Regions from separate parts of the Homo sapiens genome. Here region 1 is linked to region 2. The links are contacts of gene promoters, found by promoter capture Hi-C in human tissues and cell types (Jung and others, 2019). All regions are on one chromosome and are shown on one strand. Each heading gives the region's core, a stretch centred on a gene start or on the middle of the fragment in contact. The rest is flanking DNA. Distances are from core to core; before and after follow the strand shown. Region 1 has its middle 11 kb from the start of RASA4B. Region 2 holds the start of RASA4 (RAS p21 protein activator 4).

Region 1 (6,485 bases), core at 1,771-4,270, 88 kb after region 2:
CCCAGAGATGGGCACCACCATTTCCCAATAAACACAAGATAAAATCAGAGAGCTGGCGTCAGTTCCGCGGCTGGACTCAGTGGGGAAAAGGGCAAAAAGCAGCAGAAATAAGAGCAGGGAAAGAACAGGGGCTGGGTGTGATGGGTCCCATCTGTAATCCCAGCGCTTTGGGAGGCCTAGGTGGGAGGATCGCTTGAGCCCAGAAGTTCAAGACCAGCCTGGGCAACATACGGAGACCCCCATTTCTAAAAAAGTTTTAAAAATTAGCTGGGCATGGTAGTGTGCATCTGTGGTCCCAGCTACTCAGGAGGCCGAGGTGTGAGGATCGCTTGAGCCCAGGAGGTCGAGGCTGCAGTGAGCTATGATTGCATCACTGCACTCCAGCCCGGGCACAGAGCAAGACCCTGAGACCTTGTCAGAAAGAAAGAAAGAGAGAAAGAGAGAGGAGAGGGAGAGGGAGAAAGAAAGGGGGGGGGGGAGAGAGAGAGAGATGAAAGAGAAGGAAGGAAAGAAAGAAAGGAAAGAGGAAGGAAGGAAGGAGAGGGGAAGGAAGGAAGGAGGGGAAGGAAGGAGAGAGAGAGGAAGGAAGGAAGGAGGGAAGGGAAGGAAAGGGGAGGGGAGGGGAGGAGAGGGAGAAAAGAAAGGAAAAAGAACAAGTGGATATCAGGGGACAGAAACCATTCGCAGCCCATCCCTCGGCAGATGCAGAGGGAGTCAGCCTGGAACCCCCACCCCTGCTGGCTGTGCCCCACCGCTGTCTCCACACCCCAGCCCTTCCTCCAGACACCCAGCCGTCCACTGCAGCAGGAGCACAGGTGCCCCAAGGGGACCACTGTTGGAAACCAGGCAGCCCTCCACTCACCCACACAGTGTGTCTCTGCACCCCCTCTTTGACATGGGAGCCGGGGCGCTCTTGGAAATAAGGGTTTACCTGAGGGGTCTGAAGACTTGGGCAGTGGGGGGCTGTGAAGCCTTGGGGAGGGAATCAGCTTGTCCAAGAGTCTGGGGCAGCGAGTGGTCGGGGGCTACCCGGTCTGACCCCATCAAAGTAACCTTCCTGGGGGATATTTCCATTGCAGGGTCACAAAAAGGCAAGGGCTAAGGTTCGAGAGAGGGGTCTCTCTGGGGTCCCAGCCACCCTGCTGTGGGGGCCCTTCCCAAGCAGGACACTCCAGGCAAAGGGGATGGCTTCCCCTTGCTCCCAGGACCCATAGGTGAGGTCCTGGCTGAAATGCAGACTGTCCCCAGATGCCCCTGGGGACTTGTAGGGATTTGGGGGATTCAGTGTTGCAGGAGCTGGAACCCTTGCTTGCTGGACGGGTTTGAGCTGTGCTGTCAGGCCCAAAGCTCCTGGGTCTCCAGGATGGTGCATGAGGGCTCACACCAGCTGCTCCCTGCCACCCTTCCCCCACCTCCCACCCCTTCTCCTGGAGCCCCAGTCCTCTGGTCCTCCAAGCTCAGCTTCAAATGCTTCCACCACTTCTGTCTCTTCTACCTCGAGTGGTTTGTCAACCTCCAAATCACACGGAGTTCAAGAATATCTCAAATATCGACCAGGTGCGGTGTCTCACACCTGTAATGCCAGCACTTTGGGAGGCCGAGGCGGGTAGATCACCTGAGGTCAGGAGTTCGAGACCAGGCTGGCCAACTTGGTGAAACTCTGTCTCTACTAAAAATACAAAAATTAGCCGGGTGTGATGGTGGGTGCCTGTAATCCCATCTACTTGGGAGGCTGAGGCAGGAGAATCTCTTGAACCAGAGAGGTGGAGATTGCAGTGAGCCAAGATTGTGCCACTGCACTCCAGCCTGGGCAACAGAGTGAGACTCTGTCTCAACAACAACAACAACAAAAAGAATATCTCGAATACAAAAATTAGCTGGCCGTGGTAGTTTACACCTGTAATCCGAGCTACTCAGGAGGCTGAGGCAGTAGAATCTCTTGAACCTGGGAGGCAGAGGTTGCACTGAGCTGAGATAGCGCCACTGCACTCCAGCCTGGGTGACAGAGCAAGACGTCATCTCGAAAAAAAAAAAAAAAAAAAAGAGTATATCGAATCCAAAGGAATATCTTGAATACAAAAATTAGCTGGGCATGGTGGCACACGCCTGTAATCCTAGCTACTCAAGAGGTTGAGACAGGAGAATCGCTTGAACCCAGGTGTTGGAGGTTGCACTGAGCTGAGATTGCGCCACTGCACTCCAGCCTGGGTGACAAAGCGAGACTGTGTCTCAAAAAATAAATAAATAAATAAAATACAAAATTAAAAGAAAGATTATCTCCTGGCCACCCATGGTGCAGGCTGTAATCTGTCTCTGCTGGGGTGAAGGGACGGAGGGAGACAGATGAGAAATGAGAACACAGACCTGGAGACCCAGACCACCCATGCCAGCTACCCAGGTCACTTCAGCCCAGCCCAGGGAGCCCCTGCCCAGCACAAGCCTCATGCACAGTAGCAGTGTTAAGATGGGCCCTTGGGCTGGGTGCAGTGGCTCACACCTGTAATCCCAGCACTTTGGGAAGCTGAGGTGGGTGGATCACTTGAGGTCAGGAGTTCGAGACCAGCCTGGCCAACATGGCGAAACCCTCGTCTCTACTAAATATACAAAAATTAACTGGGCGTGGTGGTGAGTGCCTGTAATCCCAGCTATTCGGGAGCCTGAGGCAGGGCAATTGCTTGAACTCGGGAGGCGGAGGTTGCAGTGAGCCGAGATCGCACCACTGTACGACAGAGCAAGACTCCGTCTCAAAAAAACAATAAAAAGAATTGCTGGAGGAGGGAAGTGAGGGGCGGCTGGCGGGGGACTGCTGGGCTGGTGCAGAGGGAGTCAAGGATCCCTAAGAGAGAGGCAGGGGTGTTCAGCTCTCCCACCTCTGCTGGATGAACTTGCAGAGCCTCCTTGGTGACCCAGCCGGTGCAGAGACTCTGCTCAGGACAACACCCTTGCCTGGGACCCCCACATCTCTGGCCCCAGCAGCAGCCCTTGGGGGGGTCCCTTTATCTTCCTCCACTCCTACCCAGGCTTCCTCAGCAGGAGATGAGGCAGGACATTTCCACTCCCTTTCTGGAAGGTTCAGAAGGTTAATGAGAGCTAAGCACGTAAGTCCATTTAGGGGGATGAACTTCTGGGAAGAGAGGAACCTGGGTCTGGGCTGACGTCCAAGGGCGGGCTGGGTGACGGTCCCTCTGATCACGGACCCTGTCCACCCACTGCCCAGGGCCCTGCCTCGACCCCTCTGACCAGCCACCGAGCCCCAGAGGGATCTCCATGAATGTCAGAGACATTGACTGGAGGCCTTATCTCCAGTGGGAGACCCCTTCTCTTCCCACTGTGGGCCGGTTCCAGCCTGGGCTGTCCAGGAAGTGACCTCTCAGGGCCTGGGAAGGGTGTGGCCAGTGGTTCTTGGTTGTACTCAACTCATCTGCCTTGGGTCTAAGGCTGGGGTGAATGGAAGGGCCCACCTGGACCCTGGAGGGACACCAGGCTCATACTAAAATCCCAAAAAGTGAAAAGCTTTCCCCAGGCCCAAGCAGAGAAACTGGACCTTGAAGCTACATCTCTGGACTTAGTCCTCAAAGTAGGAGACATTTGCCTCTAAGCTGTTCTCTCCCACCCCACCTTTCTGTGAGCCGCCGGTTCCCTGTTGTCCACATCAAGCTGTGTGCTGGGCACTGGGTGCAGGAATAGCTTGACCACAGTCTCTATCCTGGGGGTAAAGGGGTGACCAGCCCACAGAGGGATGGACTGCAAACAGACAGTCCCAAAGTGCCATGAGAGAAGCTCTCAGGGCCTGGGCGTGATGGTTCATGCCTGGAATCCCAGCACTTTGGGAGGCCGAGGTGGGTGGATCAGTTGAGGTCAGGAGTTCGAGACCAGCCTGGCCAATAAGGTGAAACTCCATCTCTACTAAAAATAAATAAATAAATAAATAAATAAATAAATAAATAATACAAAAATTAGCCGGGCATGGTGGCATGCACCTGTAAACCCAGCTACTTGGGAGGCTGAGGCAGGAGAATCACTTGAACCCCAGAGGCAGAGGCTGAAGTGAGCCAAGATTACGTCACTGCATTCCAGCCTGGGTGACAGAGCGAGACTCCATCTCAAAAAAAAAAGAAAAAAAAAGAGAGAGAGAGAGACAGAGGCTCTCAGCCTGCAGGAAAGGGCTCTCTCCTTGTTGGCCAAACCAGTGGGCCCTTTAGCTGTGACGGGTGTGCCCTGGGCCCACCAGGACAGGAGCAAGGTCAGGAGGGCTGCTCTGCTCTGCAAAACAGAGGCTGATGGATCTGAAGTTTCTGTTACTGGGAGAATAAAGGGAGGTGAAGGAGACACGTGGTAGGTCCCCTGGGAAGGTGGTGGGAATGCGTGTGAAATGCTCGGAGAGGCACAGTAAGAACCGGCCTGTTTAGAATCCAGTGTTCTACGCCTGCCCCAGGCCCCAGCAATTCTGCTTCTAGACATCTCCCCATGAGAAATGAGCACTGAGCCTCCCAAACATGTCTTTTGGGAGGCCAAGGGGAGCGGATCACTTGAGGTCAGGAGTTCGAGACCAGCCTGGCCAACATATTGAAACCCCGTCTCTACTAAAAATACAAAAATTAGCCAGGCCTGGTGGTGGGTGCCTATAGTCCCAGCTACTCGGGAGGCTGAGGCAGGAGAATCGCTTGAACCCGGGAGGTGAAGGCTGCATTGAGCCAAGACTGCGCCATTGCACTCCAGCCTGGGCCACAGAGTGAGACTCCGTCTCAAAAAAAAAAAAAAAAAAAAGACATGTGCAAGAACATTCAGATCAGCCTTCTTCATAACAGACCCAAACAGGAAACAACAGACGTTCATCCACAGGCTAGTGAAGAGGCAGGTTGTGAGGCCTCCGCCCACACCGTAGAATGCTATTCAGCAACATGGGTGACTCCCCTGCATGTAACATTGGCAAAGAAGCCAGGCACAAGCAAATATACACTGTAGGATTCCATTTATATAAAGAGCAAAAGCAGGCAGGAGGGCCGGGTGGGCACAGTGGCTCAGACCTGTAATCCCAGCACTTTGGGAGGCCAGTTGTGGGGGGTGAATCGCTTGAGCCCAGGAGTTTGAGACCAGCTTGGGCAACATAGCAAGACCCCATCTTAAAAAAAATAAAAAATTAGCCGGGCGTGGTGGTGCAGGCCTATCATCCCAGCTTCTCAGGAGGCTGAGGCAGGAGGATCACTTGAGCCCAGAAGTTGGAGGCTGCAGTGAGCTGTGATTGTGCCACTGCACTCCAGTCTGGGCAACAGAGTGAGACCCTATCTCAAAAAAGCAGGTGGGAGTAATCCATGGCAATAAATTGGGGTAGAAGTTATTCCTGGAGGTGGTGATGACTGGTATGGGACACAAGGAAGCCACCTGGGGCTGGGAATGTTCTAGTTCTTGATCTGGGAGATGGTCATGCAGTCGTAGGCCTGTGTAAGACTTCCTCGAGCTGTCCACATAAGATTTGTGCACTTTAGCTGAATGTGGTGGCTTACACCTGGAATCCTAGCACTTTGAGAGGCTGAGGTGGGCAGATTGCTAGAAGCCAGGAGTTCGAGACCAGCCTGAGCAACATAGTGAGCCCCCTGACTCTAAAAAAAAAATTTTTTTTTTTAATTATCTGAGCATGCTGGCATGCACCTGTAGTCCCAGCTACTTAGGAGGCCGAGGTGGAAAGATTGCTTGGGCCCAGGAGATTGAGGCTGCAGTGAGCTATGATCACACCACTTCACTCCAGCCTGGGCAACGGAGCGAGACCCTATCTCAAAAAAATAAATAAAATATTTGTGCAGTTCTCTGTATGGAAAATGTCCGCGTCTATCCAGCAAGCATCCATGGAGTAGTCCGGAGAATTGTGGGTTAGCAAGACACTGGGTGGCGTCAGGCACTGGAGGGATGGGGGAACAGCCATGCAGAAGATCCCAGGCAGAGCCAAGGCAGAGATGCAGGGGGATGGTGGGGGGCCTACTGGGGACGGCTAAGTGGTGGGGGGACACCAGTGATCCAAGGGCTGGGGGCATCTAGAGGCCAGGGTTCCAGTTACCCACAGTGCCCAGGATCTGTGGGAGTAGTGGATGGGGGAGTAGTGGATGGGCAAGGGTCAAGCTGAAAAACAAGAGCCGTCACCCTCACCCTCCCATGCCCCCACTGTGGCTCCATCCTGGCTCCTGGTTCTCATCAGCCGAGCCGGGGCCCTTTCCCCGGCTGGGGGTGGCCATGGCGCCAGAAGCCACGACAGGTTTACGTTCCAGCCGCAGCTGCACTGGCCCCATCCCAAGTCCCCTCGCTTGCACACACATTTTTCTCCTTGTGGAGTCAGAAGAGGCCTGGCCAGGTCCTGCACAGGGTTCTGGAGGCGAGAGTCCCCTTGGAATCACGTTGTCTCCCCCAGCCCTGGGCCGTCTCTGCTCGGGGAGTGCCCTCAGAGCTGCACCTGGACTCTTTCCCCCACTTCCCAGCCCTTCCTCCTGTTCTTT
Region 2 (6,670 bases), core at 1,584-4,083:
ATTTCTTTATTTTTTAAAATTTTATCATGTTGCCCAGGCTGGTCTTGAACTCCTGAGCTCAAGTGATCTGCCCGCCTCAGCCTCCCAAAGTGCTGGGATTACAGGCATGAGTCACCACACCCAGCCCATCTTAAGCTTTTTTTTTTTTTGACGAGGTCTCTCTCTGTCGCTCAGGCTGGAGTACAGTGGTGCCATCTCAGCTCACCGCAACCTCCACCTCCCAGGTTCAAGCGATTCTCCCTGCCTCAGCCTCCTGAATAGCTAGGACTACAGGCGTGCACCACCACGCCCAGCTAATTTTTATATTTATAGTAGAGACAGAGTTTCACCATGTTGGCCAGGCTGGTCTCAAACTCCCGACCTCAGGCGATCCACGCACCTCGGCCTCCCAAAGTGCTGGGATTCCAGGCGTGAGCCACCGCCCCTGGCCCATCTTCACTATTTTTAAGTGGACAGCACAGTAGTATTAACTATATGCACATCTCTGGAACTTTTTCACCTTGCAATACTGAAACCCTACACTCAACAAACAACTCGCTTTCCCTGCCCCGCTCCAGCCCCTGAAAACTTCTACTCTCCTTTCTGCTTCTGTGAATTGTACTATTCCAGATACCTCCCATAGGTGGAAGCAACCACTATTTGTCTTTCTTTGTAACTGGCTCATTTCACTTAGCATTATGTCTTCAAGTTTCATCCATCTTTTAGCATGTGTAAGAATTTCCTTCCTTGCTTTTTTTGTTTGTTTGTTTGTTTGTTGAGACTGAGTTTCACTCTTGTCACCCAGGCTAGAGTGCGATGGTGCGAACTTGGCTCACTGCGACCTCTGCCTCCCGGGTTCTCAAGCAATTCTCTTGCCTCAGCCTCCAGAGTAGCTGGGATTACAGGCGCCTGCCACCACGCCCGGCTAATTTTTGTATTTTTAGTAGATATGGGGTTTCGCCATGTTGGCCAGGCTGGTCTCGAACTCCTGACCGCAGGTGATCCACCCACCTCGGCCTCCCAAAGTGCTGGGATTACAGGTGTGAGCCACCACGCCTGGCCTCGTTTTTGTTTTTGTTTTTGGAGACAGAGTTTTGCTCTGTCGCCCACGCTGGAGTGCAGTGGTGCGATCATACCTCACTGCAGCCTCCCCTCCTAGGCTCAAGCAATCTTCCTGCCTCGGCTTTCTGAGTAGCTCGAACTACAGACACACACTACCATGCCTGGCTAATATTTTTATTTTTTGTAGCAAAGGTGGGGGGGGGTCTCATTATGTTGCCCTGGCTGGGCTTGAACTCCTGGCCTCAAGTGATCCTCCCATCTCAAGCCTCCCAAAGTGCTGGGATTATAGGCGTGAGCCGCTGTGCCCAGCCTCAAACACTTTTTCTTTCAACGACATTGACCTATAGTGAATATCAAAAGCATGCACTGAAACTCAAGAGCTGCCTCCTCTCCTGTGCCAGGATGCACTGTAACTTTTGTGAGCCCTAGGCATGTTTGACTTATATGGGTTAAGATATTCAAATACGGCTAGGCACGGTGGCTCACGCCTGTAATCCTAACACTCTGGGAGACCGAAGTGGGCAGCTCACCTGAGGTCAGGTGTTTGAGGCCAGCCTGGCCAACCTGGTGAAACTCCATCTCTACTAAAAATATAGAAATTACCCAGGCGTGGTGGCAGGTCCCTGAAGCTCTGGCTACTCGGGAGGCTGAGGCAGGAGAATGCCTTGAGTCAGGGAGGCAGAGGTTGCAGTGAGCTGAGATTGCGCTACTGCACTCCAGCCTGGGTGATAGAGCGAGACTCCACCCCAAAAAAAAGAAAAAAAAAAAGATATTCAAATGTGTATTTTACAACTGCTTTGGCATAAAGACTGACTGATACCAGTCAGGTCAGATTCATTATTACATATTCATTACTATTATACTCCTGTTTGACTAGGCATGGTGGGCTCACATCTGTGGTCCCAGCCCTTTGGGAGGCCAAGGCAGGAGGATAACTTGAGGCCAGGAGTTCTAGACCAGCCTGGGCAACATAATGAGACCCCCCCATTTCTACTAAAAATAAAAAAAATTAGCCAGTCGTGGTGGTATGCATCTGTAGTCCCAGCTACATGGGAGGCTGAGGTGGTAGGATTGCTTGAACCCAGGAGATTGAGGCTGCAGTGAGCTATGATTGCACCACTGCACTTCAGCCAACAGAGCAAGCCCCTGTTTCAAATGCATGCATACATACATACATACATACATACATACATACATACATACACACACAAACCAACCAATACAAAAAATACATATTTTTTTTCTTCTGATTCTAAAAAACATAAAAACAGCCAGGCACGATGGCTCATGCCTGTATTCCCAGCACTTTGGGAGGCCGAGGTGGGCAGATTACCTGAGGTCAGGAGTTCAAGACCAGCCTGGCCAACATGGTGAAACCCCGTATCTACCGAAAATACAAAAATTAGCTGGGCGTGGTGGCGCGTGTCTGCAATCCCAGCTACTTGGGAGGCTGAGACAGAAGAATTGCTTGAAACCGGGAGGTGGAGGTTGCAGTGTCCCCCACCCGCTCCTCCAGGGGCGCCCCCCTCGAGCCACCGCGCCGGCTGCCCGGCGAGTGTCAGCGCCTCCTCACAGGCCCCGCCCCTCACGCCCCAGACGGCCAATGAGAGCTGCGGCCCCGGCCGGCCCCTCCCCGCCCTGGGGAACCCCGGTCGCGGATTGGCCGGCCCGGGCGCAGTGTCCCCCGCACGTGGGGCGGGGGCGGGGTGAGTGGAGTGGCAGCGAAGCCCCGCCCCCGCCGCCCCGCCCCCGCCCCCGCCTCCTCCCCGGCCCGCCCCACCTGCGGCGCCCAGTCCAGCGCCCGCCGCCCGCCACCCCGGACCCCGGTGTCTGGCTTCCCCCGAGCCGGGACCCCGCGATGGCCAAGCGCAGCTCGCTGTACATCCGCATCGTGGAGGGGAAGAACCTTCCCGCCAAGGACATGTGAGCGCGGCCGGGGGTGGGAGCCCCAACTTTCCGGGGAGGGGCACTGCCCCCCAGGACGCCTGACCTTTCCGGGGTCCACCCACAAGAGCAGCGGAGAGGGTGCGGGAGTGCGGCCGTGGTGGGGGATCGGCGGGGAAAATGGGGACAGTGACATTTTCTGCGAGCACCAGACGGGGTGACAACCGGGGGGCGGGGAAGTGTCACCGAGGGCTGGGGGCTGGGAACTAGGGAGGGGGCGAGAATTTGTCAGCGATCCGCGGCTCACGAGGGGAAGGGGCTTTGATACGACAGGAGCTGGAGCCTGGTGACATGCCAGGGGAGACGTCTTGGTGATCTGCCCCCGGGGTGGGGTTGGAGGGGGTGGGGTGTCCCCCGCAAAGGAAGGGTCTTCCTCAGTAGTTCCAGAGCCCTTAATGCCCCGGAGTGTGCACCTGAAGCACATGCTGGGGCCCAGGGGCTGTCCCCGGGCTTCCTGCTGTGCACTCGGGTAGGAGGGACTGGCATGAAAAGTGAGAACAGGTCAGGAGGCCAGGACAGGTGCAGGACTGTGGGGGAGGGAAGGAGGGTAGTAACTGTCGCTTGTGCCTTGGGCTTTACACCTGAGCCATCCCGTTAATCCTCTCAACCACCCCGAAAGGCAGTTCTCACCGTTCCATTTTACAGATGAGAAAACTGAGGTTCAGAGAAGTGAAATGCTGGCTCCAAGTGGCAGGCAGAGCAGGGTCTTGAGTCTAGGGCTTCTCACAGGCACTGACATCTGGGGATTCCCCTGGTCCCTGGCTCGATTTGGGGAGGTTTCAGGGGCCCCTTGTTCCACTCTTCTCAGTAGGTCCCAGGGCTGAGCTGCCTGACCCCTGGCCCACCATCTTGGTCTTGCCACCACCTTCCTCATGTACAGGGTTTAGGCAGCTCCCTGCTCCTAGAGCCTCAGTTTCCCCTCTTTAAACTAGGGGTTGAAATCCCTCTAGAGGAAGAGGGGGAAAGCTCAAAGGTCAAGGGGCACTGGCTGCCTGGAGGAGGAGGGTGGGAGGGGGAAAAGTGGAGCCTGGAGGAAACAGAGTCCAAAGTCTGCGGAGCTGCAGTTCCCCACCCCTTGGGCGCCCCGGGCTCCTGGATGCAGAGAAGTGGCTAGCATGGGCGAGGGGGTGGAGCAGGGTGGGGGGCAGGCACTCTGCTCACACATATGTGTGGTGGCCCCTGTGAGCTTCCCAGCAAGCTCAGCGCGCCACCACCGAGAGCAGTGCCAGTTCCAGGCCCCCTGGGTCTGATGAGGCCCAGCTCAGCAGTTACCATGACAATGGGGAAGGGAGGGCGGTGGGCATCCCTAGGTGGGTTTCTGTGCTTGGAGGCTTGGAGGGAGGTGGAGTGGGAGCTGGCAGTGAGGTCTGTGGGCTGGGAAGGCAGAGGAGCTCTGAGAAGGGTCTCAGCCTCCAGGCCCAGCCTTTAAGCATCCCCCACCCCCTGCCACCACTGGCACTAGGAACTAGGTCATCTTGGCCTCTTCTGGCTGGTGGCAGCTGGGAGGAGCAGCCCCTCCGTCTGTCGCCTCCCTCCTCATCCCCACAGCAGCTGGCCCTAGTGCCTGGCTCCAGGCTCTCTCCAGCCCAGGGCAGCCAAGCTCTTGGAGTATGCCCACCTGGGAGCCCAGTGCCTGGTTCCCTGCTCAGTGCTTTGCCTCTGGGCAAAGGGGTTCCATCTACAGTGGAGGGGTGCCTTGGGATCTCGATCCTCACCCTGCCCCCCTGCCTGCCCTACTCACGTCTCCTTTGCAACCCCCCATCTTCCCCTGTGGCTTGCATACACAGCTCTGACCTGTCAGCCGCCTCTTAAACCATCCCATAAACAGTCCCTCACATTTGGGCTACTACCCTTCACATCTCTGCTTTCGCCCATGTGTGGGGACTTCTGCCTTCAAGCACTCCACTTCAGTCCTCCAGAAAACTCCTATTCAATGTTCAGGACTCCTCTCAAACTTCTCCTCTCCAGGGCATTCCCTGGTGCACTTGGGCAGAGTTCCTGGCTCCTGGGCTCGCCCCCCAGCACTCTGGGTGGCAGGAGGAAGCCCCTGGTGTGGCAGTTCCTCCGTCAAGTGGTGCCTGTCCCAGCTGACTGTGAGGGCAGGGACTGTGACTCATTCATCCTGGCACCGGGTCCATAGTAGGGAGAATAAGAGGTGTTGAGGACTTCCCCCACTTAATCCTCTTCTTAGCTTTATAAGATAGACATCCTCGGTTTGCACATTGGGAAACTGAGGCTCAGGAAGTGAAAGCCATTTGCCAAGAGGGTAGGTAGAGAAGTCAGGATTCAGATTGCCTTTGCTGCCGACAGGCTGAGAATTCTAGCCTGCCCGCGGCTGTAAGCTTGCGGCTGGGCTCAGTGAGACTGAGCCTCGGAAATCCTATGCAAAGCATTTGGCTGCAGAGTCGGGCAGGGGTTTGGAGATCATGGGAGGCCCTCACTGAGTACTGGAGTTTCACTGTGCCTCACCAGCACCCCGCCTATCTTCTGAGTAGCATCTCCTCCAGCCAGGGCTTGCATACTTCTGAGGACGGGGAGCTTACCACCTCTCATAGTGGCTCATCTTGACTGAGACAGTTCCAAGGAGGAAGCTGTCCTCACACAGCTGCCAGCTGCCTTCCTGCCACTTCTACTCATGGGTTTTTATTCCTCTAAAGGGCACAGAGCGCAGCTGCATTCCCCATCACTGCTAGCTTTCAGAGCCTGCCTGTTCCTGCCCTGCCTCTTCCCACTGTCTCTCGTCCCCACGTACCTAGGCATGAGCCAAGTCTCACGATGACCAGTGACCCACTGCCTCCCACACCAAGTGGCCTTGGGGACTGGCCCAAGGCTATTTTGGGGTTTTCCCTGATCCTCCTCCTTCCACAGCCTAGAAACTGCCAAGGCCCTAAATATAGAGGCCCCGAAAGTAGCCAGACAGGCCAGTGGCAACTGGCTCGGGAAAGGAGAAATGAGAGAGGTGGGCAGCCTAGGGGCCTCAACACTAGCGAAGAAGGAACTGGGCAGGGCTTGGGTCCCAGCAGCCCACTGGGGACCATGGTTGGGCCCAGGTCCTTAAATCTGGCCTCGGCCTGCTCTCAATACCGTCCTCTTGCCCCACCTCTGATCCAGCCACCCGGCTCTTCATAGTCCTTGCACACCAGGACTCGGGTCCTGCTTCCAGGCCTTTGGAAGCAGTAGCAGCCCAGTAGTGGGGGACAGCCCACGGAGGTCCCCTGTTGCCTCAGTCAGTACTGACCTCTCCCTGCCTCCTCTGAGCTCCTTGTATGGCTCCTGGATCCTGCAGCCCAGCCCAGCACCTGGGGTGTTCAGAGGCCTGATTTCTTAGCACCTGGAGTCCCCTGGCTTTGGGTTGATGGGATGCAAGCTGGGGTATTCACAGGGGGCTCCCTGGAGGTGGGGGGGCTCTTTATTTTATTTTATTTATTTCTGAGACAGAGTCTTGCTCTGTTGCCCAGGCTGGAGTGCAGTGGCGCGATCTTGGTTCACTGCAACCTCCTCCTCCGGGGTTCAAGGGATTCTCCTACCTCAGCCTCCCCAGTAGCTGGGATTACAGTTGTACACCACCACTACATTCGGCTAATTTTTGTATTTTTCGTAGAGACGGGGTTTCACCATGTTGGCCAGGCTGGTCTGGAACTCCTGGCCTCACGTGATCTGCCCACCTCGGCCTCCCAAAGTGCTG

Evidence for each region. Contacts are between HindIII fragments. The study calls those that stand out against the background at their distance.
Region 1: a fragment that was not itself captured here is called in contact with the fragment with the promoter of RASA4 in region 2 in 4 of the 25 tissues and cell types used here (mesenchymal stem cells, neural progenitor cells, spleen and 1 more).

What each region holds. Positions count from the first base shown.
Region 1 is chr7:102,525,269-102,531,753 of GRCh38, reverse strand. No RefSeq gene overlaps it. Among named protein-coding and RNA genes, the nearest start is that of RASA4B, 11 kb to the right of the region's middle. RefSeq lists enhancers at 5,779-6,278, 6,279-6,485. The HindIII fragment of the contact is 8,734 bases long and covers 1-6,485 here.
Region 2 is chr7:102,612,919-102,619,588 of GRCh38, reverse strand. RASA4 (RAS p21 protein activator 4) reads left to right here and starts at 2,833. Exons shown (of 21, transcript NM_006989.6): 1 at 2,833-2,964. The coding sequence starts at 2,900. RefSeq lists enhancers at 3,530-4,498, 5,468-6,436, 6,620-6,670. The HindIII fragment of the contact is 11,664 bases long and covers 1-6,670 here.